2 separate regions of the Homo sapiens genome follow, and region 2 is linked to region 1. Evidence: promoter capture Hi-C in 16 types of primary human blood cells and fetal thymus (Javierre and others, 2016). All regions are on one chromosome and are shown on one strand. The core of a region is centred on a gene start or on the middle of the fragment in contact, and the rest is flanking DNA. Distances in the headings are between cores, read along the strand shown.

Region 1 (6,149 bases), core at 2,343-4,842:
CTGCAGTGAGCTGTGACCACACTACTACACTCCAGCCTGGGTAACAGAGCAAGACCGTGTCTCAAAAAAAAACAACAATAAAAAACCCAAAAAATTATACTGGATATATAACTTACTTTTAAAAGATAATTATACATTCTTTCAACCTTGGTATTTAATTTAAAAGAAGATTGCTTTTTTATTTCAAACATTGTTATTTCTCATAAGTCTGTCATGATTCTAAAATTTTTTTTAGAGAAGGGATCTTGCTGTGTTGCCCAAGCTAGCATGCAGTGGCTAATCATAGGCACAATCATAGTCCACTACAAATTATATCATTTTTAAAGTATGTCTTATAACTTTTGTTTATATTTTACATTATGTATGTATTTATTTTTTTTAAATAAAGATGGGGTCTTGCTATGTTACCCAGGCTGGTCTTGAATTCCCAGGCTCAAACAGCCCTCCTGCCTTGGCCTTCTAAAGTGCTAGGATTACAGGCGTGAGCCACCATGCCCAGCCAGTTTTATAAATTTATTTTAGTGTTTATTTTTAGCTACTTAAATTTCTGTGGCTACTGTAAGTGGGATGGATTCTTTTTATATTGTATTTTCAAATTGGTTATGATAATACATGAGAAAGCTCTTGATTTTCATATGTTTTTTTATTATTATTATTATTGTTATTTTTGAGACAGGATCTCACTCTGTTGCCCAGGCTGTAGTGCAGTGGTGGGATCATGGCTCACTTCAGCCTCGACATCCTGGCCTCAAGCAATCCTCCCACCTCAGCCTCCAGAGTACCTGGGACTACAGGTGCATCCCACCATGCTTGGCTAACTTTTTTATTGTTTGTAGAGAAAGGGTTTCACCATGTTGCCCAGACTGGTATTGAACTCCTGGACTCAAGTGATCTGTCCACTTCAGCCTCCCAGAGTGTTGGCATTACAGGCATAAGCCACTGTGCCCCACCCCCCGTATGTTAATTTTATAACTAGTTATCTTAATTTATCTTTTATTGCCTCTAAAAGCTTTTCAGTTGATGCTTTGGAGTTTTCATATTATTTGCAAACAAATGACAACCCTGACTTATTTACAGTACTTAATTTCTTATTTCTATTTTATATCTAATTGCATTGGCTATCGTTTCTATTGTTACAATGTGATGGTGAACATTCTTGCCTTGTACTTGACTTCAATAGGAATAATTATGATGTTATGTTATAAAGGAAGTGGCTGGCTTTAGTATAACATATATATATATTTAAATTATTACAAATTCTAATTTTTATTGGGAATGATGCTGGACTTTACAAAATCCTTTTCAGCATCAACTGAGATCCTCATAATGTTTTCCTCCTTTGACTTACTAATATAATCAAGCATATGAGAAAATTTTCTGTTATTGAACTATTGCCATAACTATACACATGAAATAATTTCTCTTAATTTTGTTATATTATTTGTAATGTAGTGCTGGGTTCCATTTGTTAGTATTGACTTTTACATTATATCCAAAAGGAATTTAACCTGTAGATTTCCCTTGTGTGTACTTTTTAACAGATTGTATTTTAAAACCAGTCTTTCAGCTCATCCAAAACAGAGGGATTACTGGTGAAAATGCCTTGAGGGCAACCACCTGAAATGGCCTTAATAAAAAAAAAAACACGAAGAAGAAAAAGAAAAGGAAAAAAGCTAACAACACTGTGGTTTGTCTACTTTTGCGGAAATTTACAACACTATACTTGCTATACCTTCTTTCTGATGTGAATCCACAAGCTATTGCAGCCATTAATTAAGGATATTGCTTTTCTTTCCAATAAATACATGAACTTTCTTTCAGAGGCAAACAGAGACAGATGTTTCATGAAAGTTTCTGTTCTTCCCAACCTGCCTTTCCTACCTCCCTGATAGATGATCCAGAACATTTAAAAATGGGGGAAGAACTGAGAAAAGGGCTCCAATCATCCACTTGTGTTTCCCATCCAAGGAGCCTGGCCTGTTATTTACTTTCACCACTTATCCCTGCTGCTGCTGTTTAGTTTTTGTTGTTCCCCTCAACTGACTTTCCTCATCTTTGCTGCATTCATCAAAGCCCAGTGTAAATTCCCCTCTTCCATAAACTGAGGAATCCAGCCCATTTTACATAGCAAACTTTCTCTTAGCTGCTACCTACTCAAAGTTTGGCTGCACATTTTAGCTATAATTGTTCTCAAATTGTTTCAAGAGTGCTAGTTTTCTTTCTTAGGCTCCAGGTTAGCTCCTTGGGAGCGGGGACTTAGCTTAAAATCCTGCTGTGTATTTTCCGTTGTGTTTAGCCCTATGAGTAATCACATTCAATGCATACTTGTAAGGCATATTTGACTGAAGATATCTATCATAGTTATTCATTTAGTAAATGATATAATGAAAACTCAAGTGCTCGCCAAAGATAAATCATTACTATTAATTCCCTCATTCATCATACATGTATGGCAGCCTCAGGGGCTAGGGAACCTAGGATTGCTGCTTTGACTTTTTTTGGGGAAGCCAAATAAGCCTCAGATCTCTCCACTTTGGAGCCAGCCATGAAATTCAGATTTACCTAGGGCTCAACATTAAGGGTCTCAGACTAAATTTATCTTCAGGTACCCTTTCCAGAGTGGACCAGTTTACCTTATACCTCTGAGAATAACCCAAAACTTTCAAAACTCAAATCACAGGATATTATTTGTTCATGAATTCAGCAAGACTCTCTTGTTTAACTATTGAAACTCAAATATTTCGGCTTGCAGCAAGGAGGGGTACAGCTGTCTGGATATACCTTGGCCAAATTTCAGTGTATATAGAAAAGTGGGAGGTTATCGACTATGTTAAACCTTTTCCTTAAATTTTCAAACTTCGGGATTATTTTAGTCTCATAGATAAAATAACAAGGCAAGTATTTACAAACTTTTTTCAAAAATATGAGAATTTCAGTTTTCCCTAGGGCATTTGGCGTTGTGCTGTCACCACACTTTTGAAGATAGCTTTACAACCGTGGGAAAACTCACCGGGCTTTTTTCGTTGACCCCGCCATTTCTAAGTTGCTATATTGCTGCAAGGAGCTGGCAAAGCCATGCTCTTCCTCTCCCCCATTCTCCTCTTCCTTTCAAAGACCAAAGCGCCCCGTGAGAATATAGAAACAAGGCTGAGAGGCAGCGAAGAGTAAGGGAGGAGCCAGCACTTACGCATTTTTCACTCTCCTCCTCACTCCCTAGGGTCATAGTTTTGATTCTGAAGTTAGAAGTGTGGGGGTCGTCGGCTGCATTTTCAACTTGGCCTAAAAGTTGGAGTTCACCACACTGCAGGCGCTAGGAACTCTGCCGCTCGGTCACCAACCTGAGCCTCTGGCTAGTCCGAAGAACGCGAAAAGCCAGGCCCAAGGCACTGGTTGTCATGGCAACCGGGGCGCTGGTCTCCCTGGCGACCTCGTCCCTAGGGAGGAGGTGGAGCTGGATGCCAGGCGGGCCAATGAGGTCGAGGGGAGCTCGGGGTGGGAGATCTGCGGTCCTCCCAGTGCCGGGGAATGGTTGAGTGACAGGACCGGGGGGGCGGAGCCGGCGCGGCTGCCCGAGGTGGAGCCCCAGTGGTGCGAGTAGCTCCAGCGGCCACGCTGAGGCGAGGGTGACACACCATGCTCACGGCCCCTGGAGACCGTCGTGCTGGCGAGCCGTGCTCCGTAGCTCCCCGGTCCGCCTCGGCAGCGGTCAGAGTCGCCTACAGGAGTTGAGCCGCCCGCGCCAGAAGGTTTTGGCGAAGCTCTTGGAGAGGCGTCGAGCACAGTAGGGCGGCGGGGGTGCGTTGAGCGCTCGGGGGTCAGGCAGTCGGCCGGGATCGCCGCTGGGGAGCGTTTCCGAGGCGAGGAGGAGGAGGAGGAGATGCTGCTCCTCTTCTCCCCCTCCCCAGGCTCCTTCTACAGCTCCTTCAGCCCACGCCCGCAGCCGCTTGTGGGAGAAGTGGTGGTGGCTCTCGGCGCCCGCGGCGGCTGCCGGCGGCCCGCCCCGACGCCGCGTCCCTGCAGCCCTCGCCCGGCGCTCCAGTAGCAGGACCCGGTCTCGGGACCAGCCGGTAAGGACGAGAGCCGCCCTGGGCTCTGCGCTGCATGTGCAGAAGTGCAAAACAAAGTACATTGCGCTCGTTCTCTTCCTCCTCTCTCTGCTTTCGCTCCAGTCCCTAAACCCAACTCCTCGGTTGCCCTGGTAGAAGGAACTTTTCTTTGGTTTTGGTGGTGGGTGTTTTTGTACGTTAGAGTGGGGGTGGGGTGACTGGAGTGGGGAAGAATGAGATGAAACTCCATTGCTAATTAGGTAGATCCATCTCCTCTGCGGAAGAAAGCCGGATTCTCGGGAATGAAACCCACAGGGGGAGTAAGAGATTGTGGGGTAATAGGGAGTGACATTGCCCCGTCGTGCTTGCACAGCTCCGCTCTGTGCGTGCTTAAGGGAAGGGCTCCCGGAGTCTGTTTCTAATTTCTGCAAATGATTGTGGAGATGGTGTGGTTAGAGGCCGCCCAGAAGAATGTGTGTGTAAGGGCTCGAGAAGGGGGTGGGATGGCGGGGAAGCAGAGGAAGAGGGGGCAGAGGGAGAGACACTGTCTGATGCAAGGTCTTTTATTGCTTTTCTTCTGCTTGCTAAAGTTAACACTCTACCCTCCGGCCCCCTAGCCCCACCGCTTTGCTCATTACGTGATACTGTAAGAGCAGACAGCTGGGAAGCTAAAGTTAAACCAAAGTCAAGAAAATTCTTACAAAGTTTAATTTCCTTCTGTTGTGAATATAATGGAGAGAGGAGGATGGGGAGAAATATCACTAAGAGATTTACAGCAATACAGTTTTCATTGGCCATACACGTATATGATCGACACCACCGCACACTTCCAACTAATCTGTTCGACAGCCTTGTGTCATTTTCATTTAATTGCATCTTTGAAACAACAAACGCGGTGACTTCATAGGGAGCTGCCTGGAGCTGAGCTCCCTCGCAGAAAATGGGGCAATCGGGTTTGTTTTCAAGGCAGGACCTGAACAAAATGTAGGACACCTGATCTGTGGGATGAAGGGCGCTGGTAACTAATTATAAATTTTAAGATTTTAAAATTTATATCTAGAAAGTTTACTAAAGGATGGGGGGGGGAGTAAAAGTGCATGTATTATGAAACAAGCTTAGGTATTTTCCTAAAGTCTTCATGACTGTGTTGGCAGGGTCCAGGTGAAAACTTGCTTCATGCTCATTGGCTGCTTGTAGTGGTGCCAATATACAAATTATTTCTCGTTTTAATATCACTAGGAGCATTTGTTAGTAAATTCATACATATATTGATTTAGTAAATTTATACAGAGGCGCACTGACTGACGTCCAATCTTGTTTATTATACTTTGTTCATAACATTGTGTTCTACTTGATGTTCTAGAGGCTTTGTGGGAGTATGTGTGGGGAGAGGATAGGATGGAAATTAGAACTAAAAACAGAAAAATATTTGAGGTTAGTTGTTAAGAAAAGGACTGATTTCATAGTGTTTTTCACTTTTACAATTAGAGAATGATAGCTTGCTTTACCATTATGTAGGTTTATCTTTGAATTTGCATTTGTCCCACCATTTTTACTTGCATGTAAAGCCTAGTTATATTTTGGAGGGTGATTACCAGCATCCAAAAATATAAATGGCTTTTCATGTCACAAGTAACATACACGCACACCATTAAAACCAGTGTCAATTTAAAAGTCAGATTTTAATTCTATGATGGGGTCACGTTATAAAACTTAGGTCATCTTTTTGTTGTTGTTTTTGAGGGCTGCCTCCTAAATACGGTATGTGAATGTGAGAATTAGCTAATCATTTGTTTTGGAGTAGATAATATAAATGATAGGTGTTCATCTTTAAATGAATGAAATTTATGTATTCTTTGTTATTGAGAAAAACGGGTGTTGATTTGTTCTGTCTTTAATGTGTTAAGGATTGGATGGGGAAGTGTTGTAGCTTCTCCCGTATCAATGGGGTGTATATTTTTCCAGCTCATCTTAGTGCCCAGCCCCAAATGTACTGGAGAGAAGGACTGTAAGGGATAAACTATTACTTCTTTTTTTTCCTCTTCACCCTCTTCTTTTGACAGAGGGTGTAATTTTTAAATAAACCCCAAAACATTTTTATGC
Region 2 (6,149 bases), core at 2,147-4,646, 550 kb after region 1:
GCTTAGAACCCTCAAATCCATTCCAAATAACTTTGAAGCCCCATGTGTCTTTACCAGAATATAATCGGAGGTTTATCTGCTGTTACTTTGGTAGTGATTAGATAATTGTACTGTCTAGTCTGTTTTGTCTGAGGAACAGGACTCTTTCAGCGTTTGTGGTTTTCCAGTAGACCACACTCAGCTGAAAGCAAGACTGTACTGAGACACCAAGGCTCTGATAATAAGGGACTTTGCCCTTCCAACAGACTGAGGGCAGGCCTTGAAATGCTCTTTGAACACACAATTCTATTTTAGCTTTAAAAAGACCATGTGCCTCCCCTGGATAAGTGCTTTAAATCACCCTTCTCTATTATGGAGGCCCAGTCCTAACATCTCATTTACCTTATTTCATGTGTAGGAGGAAGAAACAATTACAGGTTCTGATATCTTCACTGCTAACTATTCCTATAAATTATCCTCTAAGAAACACTACCAACCCCTTCTCAAAAAAGGTGCATGAGCACATATTTTCTTAGGAATACTCACACTACTGGATGTGGAAAACCAGTCGTGCTCAACTGAATGAACTACAGAAAAATGCCTTTAGTTTTCCATCTTTGAACTACAATCTTTGAAGAAACTCCTTGTGCAGGTAAAACTTGGTACCCAGGACTGCAACTGAGGAATTCACAATCTCAAGGGAAGAAGCAAGTGATCCTGGTAGAGTGGTTTTAAAGAGCTTCCCAAGCTTACATATACACGAGAATGTAATTTTTCCATCCTATTTTTAAGCTGATTTACAAATAAATAGTAAAACAAATTACAGTTAGCCTTCCATATCCATGGGTGCTGCATTGGTGGATTCAACGGAGATAGAAAATATTCAGGGTGAAAAATTCCCACGAAGTTCTAAAAGACAAAACGAATTTGCCATGTGCCAAGTACTGTGTTGCATCCACGCGAATGAAGTGATGTGTAGTTATTGTATTGGGTATTGAAAGTAATGTAGAGATGATTTATAGTATATGGGAGGATGTGCAGAGGTTATATGCAAATATTGTGCCATTTTACAAAGGGACTTAAGCATCCATGGATTTTGGTATTTGTGGGGATCCTGGAACCAACCCCACACTTATACCAAGGGACAACTATATAGAGGCATACAGAGCAAAAAGTGAAAGGGCAAGTGTACTTCCTCCCCAGATTCTACGGCCATTAAGTTCGTGCGTATCTATCTTTCTACAACTTTTCTGTGCATTGTTTTTTACACTGTGTATCAGTCCTTTTTCAATGTCCAGCATATTTTGGCTACAAAGTACCATGTAATAAGATATGCCACCATTTATTTAAACATTTTCCCATTATGGGCACAAGTCACTCCTCCCCACAATATTCTGTGGTTACAACAATGTACTGAAGGAATCGTAGTACACAACATCTTTGTACATTCTTACAAGTATTCTATAGGATAAATTCCTGGAAGGGAAATGTCTGGGTCAAAGCATAAGCTAAATTTTAAATTTTTGATGTTACAGGCCGGGTGTGGTGGCTCACACATGTAATCCCAGCACTTTGGGAGGCTGAGGCAGGTGGATCACAAGGTCAAGAGATCAAGACCATCCTGGCCAACATGGTGAAACCCTGTCTCTACTAAAAATACAAAAAAAAAAAAAAAAAAAAAAAATTAGCTGGGCGTGGTGGCACGCACCTGTCCTCCCAGCTACTTGGGAGGCTGAGGCAGAAGAATCACTTGAACCAAGGAGGTGGAGGTTGCAGTGAGCCGAGATTGCGTCATTGCACTCCAGCCTGGCGACAGAGCCAAGACTGTCTCAAAAAAACAAATTTGATGTTACCAAACTACCTTCCCCACCAACTGCAGATGATCTTACATTTTTGCCAGTCGTGAGTGCAGTGCAAAAAACAAATCTTACAGTACTTTAATTGCATTTATCTGACAAATGAAGTGAACCATTTTATCACAAGTCCATTGGTCATTTGTGTGACTTTATGGATTGCCTATTCCTGTACTTAGTTCATTTTCTGAGATTGTCTTTTGCCTACTAGTTTGTAGAGTAAGAAGGTTGTACAAGGTTGATTGCCTCCAGTCAACTGCATGACTCTTCCTGAGTTTGCTCCACTGCCTACACCTCAGTAGGTATCACCTGTGAGCTGCTTACAACAGTTCCCACCTTTACCTTTCTTCTTACAAATGCTACAGGAAAAAATGATCAATCCTTGAGTGAGACTTTATGTGTGTCACCAACTCAGGATCTTTGGCATTTGAAGCTCCACTAATATCTTTTTACTACTTGTCCAAGCAAATGATATTTATTCTGGATAAAGTGGAAGCTGTTTAACATTGGCAGTTTTGAAACCCACTGAATGAATATGAATTTCATCATGGATTGTCTTTATGGCCTAGAGAGATCAAATCTAAAATTGTTTGCCAAATGTCAGTCCTGAACTTAACTATAGTCCTATTAACCTGATATTTGCTTATCTTGAATGAAGGTTAAAAAGAGGAGACTGGTTTCTTGTCCTTGTGAAATTTACTCACATCCAATCAATAGTTTCAGTGATTCCTTTGTGTAAAATTACATGCTTCAGTATGTGTGTAGGCATTAAAGCATAGGTTAGGGTGCCCAGCTCCTGGATGACATGTCTCTACCCAAGTTACAGGTAACTTGAGACCTGGTGTTTTTCCATTCAACTAGCCATTGTCTCTGCTTTCAGCCATTCCTCTTAACACAGATGTCACTATTCTAAAACTAGCACCCTGTGGACCCACTGTTCAGATTATTTCAAGCTTGAGAGCAGAGCATAAGCCAGTTTATCTGACAGGTGGAGGACAGCACTCCTCTTGTACCTATGTATTTGTCTGGAATTCCCCACAGCAAAACAGAGTCAACCAGCATTTTCCCCTTTCCTACATCCATGATACATTCCCGTCATTATAGCACAACACTGACCTAAAAAAGTAAAATTGTGGAGAAGGGGAAAGAAGTATATATGAAGCCACATGCCCTACGTACCTTCCATTGCTTGTACTTTGAAACCATCTTTCTTTCAAATTAGTCATTATGCTTTACAGATGACACGTGAGCCCAAGATAAGTACAGTCATCCCTTGGTATCCATGGGGGATTGGATCCTGGATTTTCCCCCATACCAAAATCCAAGGATGCTGAAGTCCCTGATATAAAATGGTGAAGTATTTTCATATAATCTACACACATCCTCCCCTATACTTTAAATCATCTCTAGATTACTTATAATTCCTAATAAAATGTAAATGCTATGTAAATAGTTGTTACATTGTTTAGGGAATGACAGTATGAAAGTCTGTGCCTGTTCAGAACGGATGCAACACCATCCCTTTCGCCACCCCCATGCCCTCAATTATTTGCAATTCACAGTGGGTTGAATCCATAGATGCAGAACCCAACAACAGAGGGACAACTGTAATCTGTCCATGGTTAGGGAGCCAGTAAAAGGTGAAGCTCAGATGATACAGATTTGTCTGACTTCAAGTTACGAAGGGGGTTTTGCTTGTGAGAATAAACTAGTGAAAATGTGGTTTTATAAGTTGCTTTAATGTAATCTGCAGCCAGTCTTAAACACTGTTACCATTTAACCACTTTTGGATTGTACTATAGACAATTAGACAGGTAATAAGACTGGACTGTTAATAGGCCTTAGAGGCTTTATAAACTGGAGCTTGAGAAAGAAGTCCTAAAAATCTGCAGTGATTAGCAACTCTTCTAATGCATCATTAGAAGCACATGGGGGATCACCCCATCCAATGCTGCTTTCCATGTTGCCCTGTGGATTTTCTCCATTTACCAGCACTAGTCAAGACACTAGTGCACCTCTAGTGACAGCTAAAATTGATAGTTTTTCTTTCCTTATTTGCATGAAGACATGTATTAATAAATAAAAGTTTAATAAAACACAAGTAAATGTTAGTGTAACACACATTTCAAGAAATGAGCATAAAGTAAATGTTTTTAAGTCATGAATAATGTAAACTAAGCTTTAATGGGTAAAATCCCAGGAAATAAGAAATAGTAACTGAAACAGGCAAGAGTATAAATTCCCCCAGGGTCCTCCAAGTTTGAGAGTATAGGGGCAGAATAAAACTTTAATTCTGAAGCTAGTGACCCTGAAGTTTGAATGCCTTGGCCCCCTCACCTGCCTTACACTGTCCAGGCAAAACAGCCAACCAGAAATAAAAAATATGGCACTGAATTACCATCCTTTACCTTGCACAAGTTACATGAATGTCTGGTACTATATTTCCTCATCTGTAAGAAAAAAGGAAGGAGTTGAAATATGATATCCTGAAGTGTATGAGATAAAGATACTGGTAATCAAATATTTCCCTGTTAAAGATGGTGTATTAAAATCTAAAAAGATACACAGAACTTATTAAAAAGACCACTGTCCTTTAAAATCATCTTGGTGGTTTCTTCACATGTATTACCACAGTTCAAAACAAATTTACAACAAAATTATTTAAAACTGCCTTCAGGGCCCAGCATAGTGGCTCACGCCTGTAATCCCAGCACTTCGGGAGGCCGAGGTGGGCGGATCACGAGGTCAGAGGTTTGAGACCAGCCTGGCCAACATGGTGAGACCCTGTCTCTACTAAAAATACAAAAATTAGCCAGATGTGGTGGCACACACCTGTAGTCCCAGCTACTCAGGAGGCTGAGGCAAGAGAATCGCTTGAACCCGGGAAGCGAAGGTTGCAGTGAGCCTAGACTGCGCCACTGTACTCCAGCCTGGGCGACAGAGCAAGGCTCTGTCTCAAAAACAACAATAACAACAACAAAAAAAACTGTCTTCAGAACTATGTGCAAGCATAGGTACATCCTATTTATTTTATGGTTGCTTTTCTACAAAGAGTTAAACAATACTATCCACATAAATAACTCATCAGACTTGGCTCCAAAACACAATTGCAAAAGACAGAGGATAAAAATGTGTCCCTATTAGATAATTTCAGTATCTACCTAAGTTGTTTTCTTTGGGCAATGATGGCAGCACCATTGGAGTAAGTTTAAAACCTCCATGTTAATTCTTTAAAAACCAGTATTCAGCCAGGCGCGGTGGCTCACACCTATAATCCCAGCACTTTGGGAGGCCGAGGCTGGAAGATCACCTGAGGTCAGGAGTTTGAGACCAGCCTGACCAACATGAAGAAACCCCCGTCTCTACTAAAAATACAAAATTAGCCAGGTGTGGTGGCGCATGCCTGTAGTCCCAGCTACTCGGGAGGCTAAGGCAGGAGAATTGCTTGAACCCAGGAGGCAGAGATTGCAGTGAGCCAAGATCGTGCCATTGCACTCCAGCCTGGGCAACAAGAGCAAAACTCCGTCTCAAACAAACAAAAAAACCCAGTATTCATAGTGTCAACATTTTATAGGTTCTGATACATGTTTAAAAATTATCTTAATCTCCTTCCTCATATCCAAAGCTTACCCCCTAGACTTGGCTAAATGTTCTCTTATCCTAATCTTTATACTCCCTTATCCACCTCTAACTGATAAGTGGAGTGGACCATACTTACTAAGGAGTGGAATCACTGTGTACCCAATGTCACATACAAAAATGCCCCCTCCTTCCCCTTACCTCAAATTGAGTAAAGCAGTAGGTCAACCATAGGCAGTCCCATCCATCAGGCTCTGCTATTCTGTGTTCAGGCGTAAAATACACACATGTATACATGTGATTTCATAGACATGTCAGGACAATAAAATGCATTGTTGGGTAATTTGGAAATCTAAAGCCTAAGAGCTCAGGGAAATTTCACATATATACATTCTCTCCACTTTCTAAAAAATAAATGACATCACCTGTGTGAGTGATAGCTTTAAAGCAAAAACTTCTTATGTTAAATCATTAAATGTTTGCTTCTACTACCCTAATTTCCTGAAGCCACATCTTTTTTTACTTACCAAATACACATGCCTTAAATAAGTAAATCCCTGGCCAGGTTCCTTACTTAGCTCAAAGTTTTAACTTTTTTTTTTTTTTTTTAAACATGCATAGTGTTCTGTCCTTTCAGCAGAGCCCTAGGAGCAGCCGAGACCTAGTCTCCTAAATTTTTACAACTCTCCATAGGCATATTTACAAGGTGTTACCTGAAAATACCAACAAGCCACCAGA

Evidence for each region. Contacts are between HindIII fragments. The CHiCAGO score rates a contact against its expected background, and 5 or more counts as called.
Region 2: a contact is called between a fragment that was not itself captured here and the fragment with the promoter of PTPN13 in region 1, in 1 of 17 cell types (erythroblasts). The highest score is 5.6, in erythroblasts.

The regions. Positions count from the first base shown.
Region 1 is chr4:86,590,723-86,596,871 of GRCh38, forward strand. It overlaps PTPN13 (protein tyrosine phosphatase non-receptor type 13), which reads left to right and starts at 3,593. Exons shown (of 48, transcript NM_080683.3): 1 at 3,593-4,067. It also overlaps a transcript of MAPK10 not described here. RefSeq lists an enhancer at 3,244-3,830. The HindIII fragment of the contact is 4,151 bases long and covers 1,008-5,158 here.
Region 2 is chr4:87,144,361-87,150,509 of GRCh38, forward strand. No RefSeq gene overlaps it. Among named protein-coding and RNA genes, the nearest start is that of KLHL8, 73 kb to the right of the region's middle. The HindIII fragment of the contact is 1,226 bases long and covers 2,784-4,009 here.